2 separate regions of the Homo sapiens genome follow, and region 2 is linked to region 1. The links are contacts of gene promoters, found by promoter capture Hi-C in blood cells and fetal thymus (Javierre and others, 2016). All regions are on one chromosome and are shown on one strand. Each heading gives the region's core, a stretch centred on a gene start or on the middle of the fragment in contact. The rest is flanking DNA. Distances are from core to core; before and after follow the strand shown.

Region 1 (6,777 bases), core at 1,139-3,638:
TGATTAGATAGGAGGGCTTGCAAGGAGTTAATTAACCATGTTTGAATATTCTTACCAATTCTCTAGCATTCAAGTTGCAAATCAACATCAAAATGAGCAAGTAGCTGGCCCTGCCCTACTAGTCCTTCTGTGCAAGGGGCCATCTGAACCTTAAGCCAGCAGTTTGTGTGGGCAAACAGATGCCCATCTTCAAATCCACACTTAGGAGACTCCTGTCTCTGTTTTCTGCTGGGACTCTGACACTTGCTCTTGCAGAGAAGGTTCTCATTAAATATATGTTGGAAAAACCCCAATAATTGAATCATCTACAGGATGTTCTCACTTTAGCCATATTCCCTTCATTTTCCTTTGAGGGCTAAATGGGAGTAGAGATATCTTTGCTGCTGGTCCTGAGAGACCATGGGGTTGTCCATTCCTGGTAAGGTGATGCTGACCAGACAGAGCTGATCTAGATGAGGGGTGGGAGGTGACAGTGGTTCAGTGGCTTTCTTGGAGGATGCATGATTGTTTGAATTATTATTTTTAATTGACATATATAAGTATATAATAAATATATATGTTATATATATGAGTTAGAGCTGAATTGCACAATATGAGCAAGGCGTTCCTCTCAGCTTCAAAACCAGCTCTGGGTTGTAAACAAGCTACCACTTCCTCAATCCCTCTGAAATAACATCAAAGTTGGGGTGCAGGATGAAGGCACCCCAATAATACCACACTGGGGAAAGTGTGGTATTTTGATACCTGTATACAATGTATAATGAACAAAGCAGGGTGGTTAACATAGAGAATGCATGATTTGCTTGGTGGGGAGAACTGGATGGTTCTGTAATTATGTTGAGATGGACAGAAAGACATCATCTGACTTGGGGAGAAAATCGGGTGTGGGAGGAGGTGGGAGAGTGCAGAACCTGAGGCAGAGGTCCCCAGCAAGTCTGGCATGGGGTAGGGTAGGGTGGTTGAATACTGGCTTCAGGGAGATGAGGCAAGCTGGCCTGACTCTGGCAGGTTGTCAGTGGTAGTCCTAGGTAGAGGAGGGGGCTTTGCTAAGCTACCTGAAAAGTACTAGAGTGGGCCGGGGTAGGAATCGGGCTACCGTGGCTTGTCGGAGATGAGGAATGTTTTTAGAAAATTGAACTGACCATCCCTTCCTTCCCCTGAACAGCAGCTTGTATGCAACTATAAAGGTAGTCTCCCTTTCAGCCCTGCTTGCTGTGTCTTTATTCTTATCAAAAACCAGGATCTGAGTTCAGAGGGCAGTGAAACATAAAATGAAATAGGAAAGGTTGCAGTAGTACATAGACTTTGGCTGCTCCCACTAACCTGCAAAAAAAATATTTTCCTTGGGCGTACCTTAGCAGTTCCATGGCAGAAGTTTTATCTCCTGTGGTTCAGAGAGTTTGGCTCGTCAAGCTGAATGTAGGGTTAAAGTGTGTCCTCCCTCCTCTGTGGGTGTTTGCCTAGCTCCTGGCTGTGGGTTGAAGGGACTGGTAAATATGTCTATTTTACTGCTGAGGCAGGGTGGCTCAGTGCTTGGTCACCTTGGAGGGATCATAAGCAAGCCGCCGCTGGGGCCCTGTGCCACGCACAGGTATTCATGCGTGCGTGCAAGCACACCCTGTATAGCTGTGTAATAATTGTCCAGGTGTGGTGCATTCTTTGTCAGATGTACCCTTGTTTTTACTGCCTCTGTGCAGGATGTTTATTTGCTGTGCTTCAGGCTGGGGCACGTAGCTTGATCAAGGGTAGTTTTTGCTGTGGCCCCTGCAAATACGTTGTGGTGCCCAGAGTAGATGAAAAACTGTGAGTTTCCCAATAGAGCGGGTTCATCTGGACTCTTGTTGGTTGCGTTCTAGGAGCTAATTCTGTGGCTCTGGACTCTTCCCTGGAGGTGGGGATGAGGCCGGGGCCGGGGGGAGGTGGTCTTGTGGCGCTACTGCGGGCTGTGCACTCAGGAAAGTGGCCACGGTTTAGGACGACCTCGACACGACCCTGTATAGGACGCAACTAACTCCAGAGAAAACGAGCGAGCCCCATGCAACTCTTCATTCCTGCAGGGAGAACAAGGAGGTGTGCCCGCCAGGGAAGGGACGCACCCCCACCGGCGCTCGCTGCCTTAACTTCCCCATCCCCGCGCCAGGGAGGGGCCGGAGTCGCCGCCGAGGCCGCCGAGCGCAGAAAGTGCGCGAAAGGGACGCGCTGCGAGCCTCACACGTGACGGCGCCGCGCCGAACCGAGCGGGACCTGGCGGCAGCGGCGGCGGGCGCAGCGGGGCGGCCCGGAGCGGCGCGGGCGGCCTGGAGCCCCGGGAGCGGCGCGCGCGGTCCCGGCCCAGCGGCTCTCCTGGCCTCGCGCTGCACATTCTCTCCTGGCGGCGGCGCCACCTGCAGTAGCGTTCGCCCGAACATGGCGACACGGAGCAGCAGGAGGGAGTCGCGACTCCCGTTCCTATTCACCCTGGTCGCACTGCTGCCGCCCGGAGCTCTCTGCGAAGTCTGGACGCAGAGGCTGCACGGCGGCAGCGCGCCCTTGCCCCAGGACCGGGGCTTCCTCGTGGTGCAGGGCGACCCGCGCGAGCTGCGGCTGTGGGCGCGCGGGGATGCCAGGGGGGCGAGCCGCGCGGACGAGAAGCCGCTCCGGAGGAAACGGAGCGCTGCCCTGCAGCCCGAGCCCATCAAGGTGTACGGACAGGTGAGCAGTTTTGCAACCCGCCTCCCTCCAGTTTTTTCCTCTCCCTGCACTTCCTCACCCCCGCATCCATCCGTTGCAGTCGCCTCCTAGGTGCAGGCACCACTGGGGACTTCCCGGCTTGCATTTGTTTTTTTCCTTCACGAGTACAACCGTCAGCACTTGAATCGCATTGATCTTTCCTTCTTCCTGTCGATTTAGTAAACGTATTCCAGGTAACTCGCCGGGTGCAGTGCGTATTACCCCAGGGTGTGTGCAGAGAGATGTAGTTTCCGGCAGGTATAGGAGGGGTGCAGCTTCATTTTACATCTGGATAAAAAACGGGCTTTCTTTAGTGTATCATCAGTTGGCAGTGGAGGCGAGCACCCTGCAGTTGCGGTACACTTACACAGAACAGCACGAGGTGGGGGTTTCCACACTTAGCATTATTAGCACAATAAAAGTGGGCAAACCTGAAAGCTTGTCGACTATCTCTGTACAGTCAGACAAGAGGTGTGTGTATGTGTGTGCGTGTGTAAAGGCTGAATTTTTAATTTTTAATTTTTGGCGAGCGTGTGAGATGCTCTCCATTCCTTCTTCCCCACCCTTCAAGATGCTGACTCTCCCACCCCCGTCAAGATAACTTTATTTTGGAGAGGAATACCCCTCATGGCACTTGGAGATTTGAAAGGACTGCAGGAAATTTGGTGGGCATTATTATTCTATAAGTGATTTATTTCTACCCAGGCAATAGGTTTATTAGATCATAAGTAACGTGAATTTCACTTTTATGGTCAGACTTACTGCGAGGAATTGCAGATGGAGTTTGTAGGTTAGGATCAGCACTGGCAAAATTAATTTGACCGTGTTATTGCCTCATGAGACTCCCAGTCCTGCAGTTAAGATTGACATCAGCAAAAGTATAAGGTCGGTGGGGGAGAAAAAGTAGGACCAGAGGAGGGGGTAAATACACTTGTTTTCTAGAGTCAAATTGTTCCTTTTGAAGTAGAAATTATTAATAAAAGATTACCCTGAGTTCTGCCTTTTCTCACTAATTTCACTTTAGCCATTTCTTCAGGAAATACAGAGTTAAATGTTCAACCCTTGGATCCAGGACGAACCTTGTAAACATATCACCCTATTGTGTCATTTTGTTGGTGAAGAAACTGAAGCGTGGAATGGTGAAGTGACTAGTCCAAGGTCATACCGGGAAGGTGGCCTGCTCTCTAGTTTTTGTCTGCATTGTCTCAGTGACCTTTGCTTGACTGCAGTCACCCTGTCTTTATGCAATGCTGCTGAAATACCTCCTTTCTAAAATAAAATAGATCTGGTATAAAGGGGGAAAGGATGGTGGTGACTGGGTGGGAGCGTTGGATTTCCCTCCACTATTGGTCCCTGGGCAAGAATGTGTGCCCCAGGGCATGTAACTAATGGTGGCCACAGGCTGCAGGAACCTGCATGCTCAGTTCCTCTTGGGCCCAGATCCTTGTCCCCCTGTCCCCACCCCATATGACAAATATGTGTATGAACAAAAAGAAGTCATCAAGGTCCTTGCTCTTAACAGCGACACCAGCATGGGGCTGATGGAGGGTGGGAGAAGGAGGAGGAGTGGCCCACTTCTTCATTGGGCCTCCGCAGTCAGCCCAGCTCTGCTGTGCTCTTGAATCAGCATTCTGGGAACTGGGAGTTGGGGGCTGGTGGGAGACAATCCCTCCCAGTGCTCAGGTCCCCTGAAGCTATAGTTTAGGTTGAGGAAAAAGTTTTCTGGTTTCAAAAATATGTGTACATGTGCCATTTCTTTCTTGGGTTTGGTTTATGAAAAGCTCCAGGGGATGTGGGGCAGGTTGGACATGAACTCTGTTCTCACTGGGAGTGACTCCCAAACCCTGGGCTTTTGAGTTTCTGGGCCAGCCAGATTGAGTTTGGTTCAGCTGAAGGATGGAGAACTAGCAGTCAAACTCATAATGAGGAATTCCTAACCGGAGGGTGAGGGTACAAGGGTGAGATTTTTCTTCTCTGTGGCTGCCTTCCTATGCCATTGTTGCCTCTTGCTCTGAGGTTAATAAGAAGTGGAATTAATTTGAATCTGTAAGGATTTGAGTCAGATAAAAGGAAGAACTTCCCTGTACTGGGCTTTCTGCCACAAGTTCTATCTGGTGCAGACCCTTCAGAATGCAAGCACAGGTTGGTGACTGAAGGGGTTTGAGGTGCCCCTCTTGGAACTCTGGAGTAACTAACATCTATTTGGAATGATCTTTCTAGCAAGGATGACCATTGCCTCTGTGTTTCCCTGGGGCAGACCTGGTTTCTAAGTTGTCTCTGGTGGTTATGAATAGCACCCCCTTCACTCTCAAAAGTGTCAAGATGTGACAATAAATTATATGGTCCTACTTTTAGCCTTAAGCCAAGTTCCACTTTGTAATCACGACTTTCCCCTTCAACGTTTAAACCTAAGGAATGGTGATGTTTTCCAACAGTACTGCTTGACTTGAGTGTGGTTCTATGGAGGTGCAGTGAGCTGGGGAATAAAATTTCATTCCTGCTTTTAGGAAATTTACAATTTAAGGAGGAGAGCAAGCAGATGCAGATACAGGCATGTCAATGTACCAGGATGGGAACCAGGAAACATGGTCACAAGAAACCAGCCACAACTCTACAATGGTGTGATAACGGGCTGTGTGACATGCAGCGCATGGGAGATGGAGAGATAAGGGGTGGTGGGCTCAGACACTGTCCAGCTTCTTGCCCTCTGACCTTTGAGTGAGGTTAAGAGGACACTGGCAGCACAGGTTAGGGCTGGAAGCAGAAGCTGCCTGAAGGAAGCAGGCCTAGAGGCGATGTTAAGGCCACCACCTTCAGGGAGAAGAGAAGGGAAGGCTTTCTAGGGGAATACTTGCATCTGAGAAAGAGCCCTGTGCTGGAGTCAATGTCGGTCCTTTTTCCTCTGCTTCGCTAATGTCTTGGGTAAACTAGGCTTGGTTATTTTGACCATTTTCCTCCTCAGTTTCTCTAAGGTGGGGAGACCGGCTTCTGCCATGATTACTTAAAGGCACATTTATGATACTGAAATGTGATTGTAGGGGTGAAAATAATTTGCTGGCAGATATCAGGACTTTTCTGCCCATGTTCAAGGCTCACGCCTGTAATCCCAGCACTGTGGGAGGCCGAGGCGGGTGGATCACTTGAGGTCAGGAGTTCGAAACCAGCCTGGTCCACATGGGGAAACCCCGTCTCTACTAAAACTACAAAAATTCACTGGGCGTGGTGGCAGATGCCTGTAGTCCTGGCTACTCAAGAGGCTGAGGCAGGAGAATCGCTTGAACCCCGGAGGCGGAGGTTGCAGTGAGCCGAGATCGCGCCATTGCACTCCAGCCTGGGGGACAGAGTGAGACTCCATCTAAAAAAAAAAAAAAAAAAGGCAAAGTTTAGAAGTTGAGCCCCTTCTTAAAGGCCAGGTCCAAGAAGAGGGATTCCCTAATTCATGCCACACTGAATTTCCTCCTGATTTCTCATAAGCTCTGTCTGTCTGCGCCATCATACCTGCTTTTTCCTCTGCCTGAAATGATCTTCCCCAACTCTTGTCCTTGCCTGGGAAGCTCTTATTCCATTCTTTAACATCCAAGGAATACCTCTTGGTATTCTCAGGCTATGGTGGGAAGAGTTTCTTCTGAGCTTGGAGGCAGCACTTACTGCCTTGTGTTAGAATTGCTCAACTGTCTCATCTTCCTGTTTGCTCCTTGAGGGCATGGATCAAGTTCTCTTGTGTTTCCCTGGCACTTGGGAGGCCCTTAATGAGTATTTGTGGACCAGCCACACACCTGGAAGAAGAGAGGCCCAGAGGGTAGGAAGCACATTCACATTATATAAAATGTATTTGTAAGGAGGAATACAGTGAACCCACACATGGATAGTGAAAATGAGATGGCTCATTCGGTAGTGAGGATGCAAGCGGCATGGCCTACAGATAGTGGAGCCCTGATTTGCCTGTGCTATATGGGAGTTATTTTCAATGAAGAGCTTGGATTCTATTTTACAGAATCCTCCCTTTTAGGGCTATCATTCTGGTTTATGCTAATGGTATTGTTTTGGGGAAAAATCCTTTGGAATAAA
Region 2 (6,777 bases), core at 1,152-3,651, 800 kb after region 1:
AAAGATTACTTAAAATAATTGGTGCCATGGATTCCATAGTCCCAAAATGGAGAACAATATACTTTCTATGGTACCAAGATAAGGCCTTAAGCCTGCTCACACAAATAGTTTAACGTATTTCATAAATGACCTGGATTATCACATTCTGTCTTGGTTAGCCAAAACTTGTTTTATAGGATTTAGGCACTAATTTTTTCCAGTGGGTGGTAAACCAGTGGTCTCAATTCTCCATTCTATGCAAAAATTTTAGTTTACCACTTGGAAAAGAATTCAAAGAGATGAGATAAGACCCAGGCAGCATAGAACTGGATTGTGGTATTAAGTAATCAAATCTAAGCTACCAAATTTATTTTAGAAAAATGCTTTATTAGATGGTGGATGTAGATTGCAGGTTATGTCATACAACATTCACATTTAATTGCTTTATGCCAAATAACCTTGCTTTTGCCATTTCTTAAGGTATTTGCATATAATAAACATGATTAGAGAATATTGTGTTATTCTGCATTTTCCTAGATTCTGTATTTGTCTATTTGGCATCCATTCAGCACAGGGCCAATTATATTTGCTACGTTTTTAAATTTTCTATATTCTTGATGTTACGGCATTTGAGGGTCTTACATACCCAAAAAGAGACTGTCCCTTCCAGGGTTAGCTAATTCCTAAAGATAGTAAACAAGTTACTTGAGTGCATGTCTCTCATATGCAAGCCGACCACCCCCTTTATCTAACTCTCACATACAAAGCCAATATTTCTTCTGCCCTAAATCATCCCAGGACCAGTGCTATGATTTGGGTGTGGTTTGTTCCTGCCAAAACTCATGTTGAAATTTGATTCCCAGTGTGGCAGTGTTGAGAGGTCGGGCCTGGTAGGAGGTGTTTGGGTCAGTGGGGTGGATCCCTCATGAACAGATCAATGTCCTTCTGAGAAGGTGAGGGAGTTCTCACTCTTGCTAATAGGTTAGTTCCCATGAGAACAGGTTGTTAAAAAGGGTCTAGCTTCTTCTCCTGCCATGTGATCTCTGCACATACTCTCCCTCCTTCCACTTTCCACCATGAGTTGAAGAAGCATGAGGCTCTCATGAGATGCAGCTGCCCAACCTTGAAATTTCCAGCCACCAGAATCATGAGCCAAATAGATCTCTTTTCTTTATAAATTATAAATGACCCAGCCTCCGGTATTCTGTTATAGCAACATTAAAATGACAAAGACAGCCAGATACTAGGCATCTAAGGACTACCCCTATAGCCCGAAGCCCTCTAGAATTTTATTCAAACTAGCCAGTCCAAAACTGCTTACTCTGCCCTGCCTTGCCTTTCCTTTGGAAACCCCATAAAGAGAGGCTTTGGCTTAGATTCTCCTCTCTCCACTTTCTGCCTTGTGACCAATACTCGTGCTCCCCATGTGCACTTGTGTAGCATGACATGGCCCTTCTCTGGGAATGCAAGGGAGAAAAATGTTCTTTCCATGGCATGAGCTTCCCCATGTCACCACTTGGTAATCTCCATAAATTAAAACCCCGTGGGCACAAATGAGACACATGTCTGCCCTCAGTTTAGTTTGTTATGGTATTAATGTTATTTGATATAGGATAAGTGATATGGTTTGGCTCTGTGTCCCCACCCAAACCTCATCTCAAATTATAATCACCACGTGTCAAGGGAGGAAAGAGATTAGATTATGGGGGTGATTTCCTCCATGCTGTTCTCATGATAGTGAGTGAATTCTCACGAGATCTGATGGTTTTATAAATATGGTCGTTTTTCTTGCACTCATTCTCTCTCTTGCCTGCTACCATGCAAGATGTGCCTTTGCTTCTCCTTCACCTTCCACCATGGCTGTAAGTTTTCTGAGGCTTCCCCAGTCATTCAGAACTGAGAGTCAATTAAAACTCCTTCCTTTATAAATTACCCAGTCTTGGGTATTTCTTTATAACAGTGTGAGAACGGACTAATACAATGAGAGGTAGCAACAAGTAAATTGCCCTCTAAAGACTTAAGCTCCACTCAACCCTGAACTTCTTGATTACAGAAACGGTGTAATTATTTATCTCACTGTGTCTCCTGGACACAGTGCTTGGCACATGTGAAGTTCCAATTAGTTTTCACAGAATAAATACATTGGAAATGGCTAAATTAATATTTTCCATTAGTGTGATGGTGACCATAGATCAATGGTCCAGAATCATCTGAGCACTTGTGCAAAGATGAGATTCTGAAGCCCTACTCGATGCTTTCTGAATCCTAATCTCTCTTTATGAGGCTGAGGGATCTGCCATTTAAACAAACTCCAAGGCAGTTCTTGGTTACATTTTGGTAAGAGAATCTCTGCTTTGCTTTCTTGTCTCAAAAGCATCATTCTTGGCTTTAATGGAACTCTTCAGTCAAGATGAAGCACATAATGATTCTAAAATATGAGGAACTCTTATTCCAAACACTTACTATTCATATGTAGTTTGAGGACCTATATTTTTGATATTCCAAAAACCTATCAACAATGCCAATATGTGGATGACTATTTGGTGCTCAATCCATCTCTGACATCAGATGCATGAAATCAGTTTCTCCTATATCTGTTTTGCCTTCTAATTAATATGAATTGATTGGTTAAGTTTTTCCAATATGGAAACTAACAGACTTTTGAGTCAAATAATATGTGCATGTGTGTGTGTGTGTGTGTGTGTGTGTGTGTGTGCTTGCATACATGTTAACATGTGTTTAAATGCTTTACTTTTGTTTTACTTTATTCAATTCATTCATTAGCTTGCAACCAGTCAAGTGTGACTTCTTAATAGTGTGGGTTATGTATACTCCTTCAATCAACTCTTGGCATCTTATGCCCTCATCTTCTTCTCAGAACACTTGTATGAGACCTCTGCCTGCTTTGGCTACATCTTATAGAAAAGGTTCTCTGAGGGCACTTGTGGATTTTTTTTTTTATTCAGTCATGAGAAAACACATGAAAGTACATTCTAATGAATATTCAGGTCCACATTCCTGAAAAATATGCTCCTCAGGGGCGCCATGGCATAGCTTTGTGAAGGAGCTCTTCTCTAATAACAGTTGATATGAATCAAGGTCTCAGCCAAGCCTTCAGTGAAGTTTTCCATCCAACCTTTTCTCTTAGAATTGACGATTCTGGCACTTCTGTCAACATTGTGCCTACAGCTTCTGTGACATGACTGAAACTCCTCAAGGGCAGTAAGTGATGGCATGTCTTTTTTTCCTTTCATCTCACCTTCTGTCTCTCTCAAAGGCATCAGGAAAAATCTGAGATAAGATGCTTACTTCTACACAGGCGACAATGCAGCCACATGAATAAGTAATTAAGTATAAGTCAGTTTCTCAGACCTCAAAGGGCCAGAATGTTAGAATGGAAGAGGGTGAGAGATACACACTGAGTGTCCCCCTGGCAAATCTGTGGGGCGCTCAGCTTCTCTAAGCCCATCTCTGGGCCCCTGGCAGTTCACATTTTTGTCCTAAAGGGCTGAGCTTCCCCTCTGATGCTGCTAATCATGTCTCTCCTCTGTTTCATGACCGAAATTCTGGCTGCCCTGGAACTCATGGATCTCATTTGCTGATCACCACTATTGTTGGCCTGTTCTCTCTTATGAGTCCCCTAATGCTGCAGTTACATTGATCCTTACAGAGTTTGGACTACATCAAAATTTTCAAGGTACAAGATTGGGATGGAAAAGGAAGAAAAGAGGTAGAAGAAGGGCTCTTCCTTCCCTAGCATTTTGATGGCTTCATGAAGTCCAAACAAAATGGCACTATTCTTTTAAGGCCTTTAATTGTGTCCCTGGTGTGAATAATATTTCATTTGATTTGATTTTTCAGTGACTTTCATGAAATTCTGTCCTTCAAAGAACAACAAATAAAACACTTGCCACTAATTATCTGTGACTGCATCAGACAACAATGTGAATGTGACCACATTTAAGACCAAAGCTCTTTGCTCTCCAACAACCAGAAGCCCTGGACAAGGAGAGTGCAGTGACTATCCCACTTCTAGTTGTCCTACTCCTAGGGCTAGCTATCAAGACTACAGCTCTAGCCTGTCCACTTATTGTTCCTCTTTCTATGAGACCCAGAGGAAATGATAATTTAGCAACCTTCACAGTTAAGCCCACGTGCCCTAGAGCAGCTACCTTCAAATCCTTTGTCATGTAAGACTTAGCCAGATTCTGCCACAGAGATGAAGGTGAACCCCCTCCAGCCATCCAGTAATATTGCCAATTAAATCAGATAAACCAAATTGCATCTAGTAGATATCTCTAACTCAACTGGCTCTAGGGAAATAGTGACTGCCAGCAGGTGGTTCAGAGCAACTCTTTGTAATACTCATTTCCTGTTGCTTAAAGATGTGAAAAAGACCAAGTCTACCAGCTTCTGGTGTTTGACAAACCAAGCTCCTGTTGGATCATATTTGAACAGACAGCTGTATCTGAGTGTGCCAGGGAAAGCCTTCCCAGACAATCAAGTAAGGTCAGCAAAAATTCCCCAGACTAGCTAAGAATTGGTAATCACCTAATCCCATGAAAACATAGTGGCAAGCTATGCGCACTGTTGGCTTTTTTGTACACGTTTGTTCATTTACCCATCACTCATTCACTAGCCAGTCATCCAGCTCTAATATGCACCCATCTCTGTCCTAGGTGCTGGGCACACACTGTCCCGGCCAACGCAAAGCCTACAGGCTAGTGGCCAATAATGACCACGCCTGTATTTTCTCATACATCAATCGGAACCTTTCCTGAAAAAAACTTACAGGATGCAATTCTTACTAATAAAACAAGATTGTCAGCAATGCTTAATTTAATTATTTAATTTTGTAACCGCAAAATAAAGTGGCAGAATAAATGAAGTATTTATACCCTGGATCAAAGTCAAATAGAAGTTCCTGTCTAACCCAGGAATAGATTTCAAGTTGCCTAATGTCTAATCTGGTTTTCTCACTAATCATCACTTCATCCCTTTGCAAGAGAAAACCTATAAAAAGTGTAACAGTCCCATGGCTAGAAAAATATGTAACTTAGATTATGCCTAGAAATAAAACAAACAAGCAAATAAAACCCCAATAAGACACAACCATATAAAAGGCCAATTCTTGCTTTCTGGATAATATCTGAACCAGGCAATGAGAGCAAAAACATCTGAATTCTGAATTAGCTGTCATAAGAGTGTCTTCTTTTTCCCAGTCTTCATCTATTCCCACTGAATATGAGTTCATACATCTTCTTCTGTAGTTAGCCAATGGAAGCCTTCCCATTACTCACTGGCATGTAATTCTTAATAGCTTATTTACTTACTGATTTGGAATGTATCATATTATAAATAACAAAATAGAAGGGAACGGGGGTAAGAAGCTTTTACATTAAGCATGATAAGAGAAGTGCACGTTGATAACGTGGGAAGAAGAAGAACTGGCATTAGGCATACAGCTATTCTCAGGAGTTAATGTTCATAACAATACTGGGTGTTCATCCTGCTGATACCGTCTTGCTTGACTAAAGAAATAACTGAAATCCAAGAGAAATTGAGTTTTAAGAAGATAACAATATCTATGCTACACTTTTGATAGATTTCCATCAACGAATAATTTAGTAACATTCACTTACGCATGAATTTCCAAATAGTACTTTACTCTAGAATGGCAGCTTGTACAGTTTCTCAGACATGTGTTCAACCCATTGATCTTCATAGCAACCCTGTGAGGCACATAGATATTCATTTATTTATTCATTGTTTGTTCATTTGTTTTCACTATTTTTTCATTTGCCTTCTCATTTATTCTGCCAGTCAATAAGTATTTGTTGATTTCTTCCCCATTGTGGGCACTGTGCTACACTATTATCCTGGACTGTCCAGTATGGTAGCCCCAAGCCACATGCGGCTATTGAAATTAATTAAAACTAAATGAGATTTTAAATTCAGTTATTCAATCACACTAGACACATTTTAAGTACTCCAAAACCACTTGTGGTTAAAGGTTACCTTATTAGAGTACAGATACAGAATATTTCCATCACTGCAGAAAATTCTATTGAACAGTACTGCATATTATCATCCATTGACAAATAGAGTCACCAAGACTTGCCAAGGGATGCCAAGCTGATTTACATCTTCTTAAGATTTATTACCTCTGACTTTGGAAAAGTACTATCCTTCTACCTCACACTTACTTATACTTCCAAGTCTCTATATGGGAGATACAGGGGCAAGAGAGATGAGGGAGGATAACACACACTTGTTCCATTCTAGAAGATGCTCAGCCCAGCCACTGTTTCACGCCTACCCGTGGAAGGATATCCTGCAACTTCCCTTCTCCTGTTAGTTATGTTTTGTTCTATCTTCAGCACATCTCATTCACCTACACTGCCTGAGCCAGTTAAGCAAGTGACTGTCTCTCTCCTTTTCTCAGTGATTTCCAAGAACTCCACATCCACAATTACTAACCTACTCTAAGGTACCATTGCTTGCTTTAAAATTCTGTCTATATTGTTGACAACTATGAAAACAATCCAACTCCCTTTCTCTTCTTTGCCTTTACTTCCCTTTTTCAGATGACAGAGCCAAGGTTGGAGAATTCTTCCAAAGAATACCTCAAGGCAACAAAACTGTCATTTCTTACAGAGGAGCTGCCCAATCTTTCACCTTCTGCTGTGCTCACCTATGATGCCAGCCCCCATAACAACAAAATCTTTCTCTTGAAGAAGAGTAATGTAACTTTTCCAGGAATGCTCATGTTTTTCTCTCAACCGGGAAATTAGATAT

Evidence for each region. Contacts are between HindIII fragments. The CHiCAGO score rates a contact against its expected background, and 5 or more counts as called.
Region 2: a fragment that was not itself captured here is called in contact with the fragment with the promoter of SORL1 in region 1 in 1 of 17 cell types (monocytes); the score reaches 5.4 in monocytes.

What each region holds. Positions count from the first base shown.
Region 1 is chr11:121,449,926-121,456,702 of GRCh38, forward strand. It overlaps SORL1 (sortilin related receptor 1), which reads left to right and starts at 2,389. Exons shown (of 48, transcript NM_003105.6): 1 at 2,389-2,691. The coding sequence starts at 2,407. It overlaps SORL1-AS1 (SORL1 antisense RNA 1), which reads right to left and starts at 3,042. Exons shown (of 3, transcript NR_183636.1): 1 at 2,750-3,042. RefSeq lists enhancers at 1,346-1,405, 2,796-2,985, 2,996-3,045, 3,086-3,155, 3,176-3,225 and silencers at 2,276-2,325, 2,456-2,505, 4,350-4,399. The HindIII fragment of the contact is 8,160 bases long and covers 1-3,145 here.
Region 2 is chr11:122,254,686-122,261,462 of GRCh38, forward strand. All of the region lies in intron 2 of MIR100HG (mir-100-let-7a-2-mir-125b-1 cluster host gene), which reads right to left. Among named protein-coding and RNA genes, the nearest start is that of MIR100, 110 kb to the left of the region's middle. The HindIII fragment of the contact is 5,931 bases long and covers 1-5,367 here.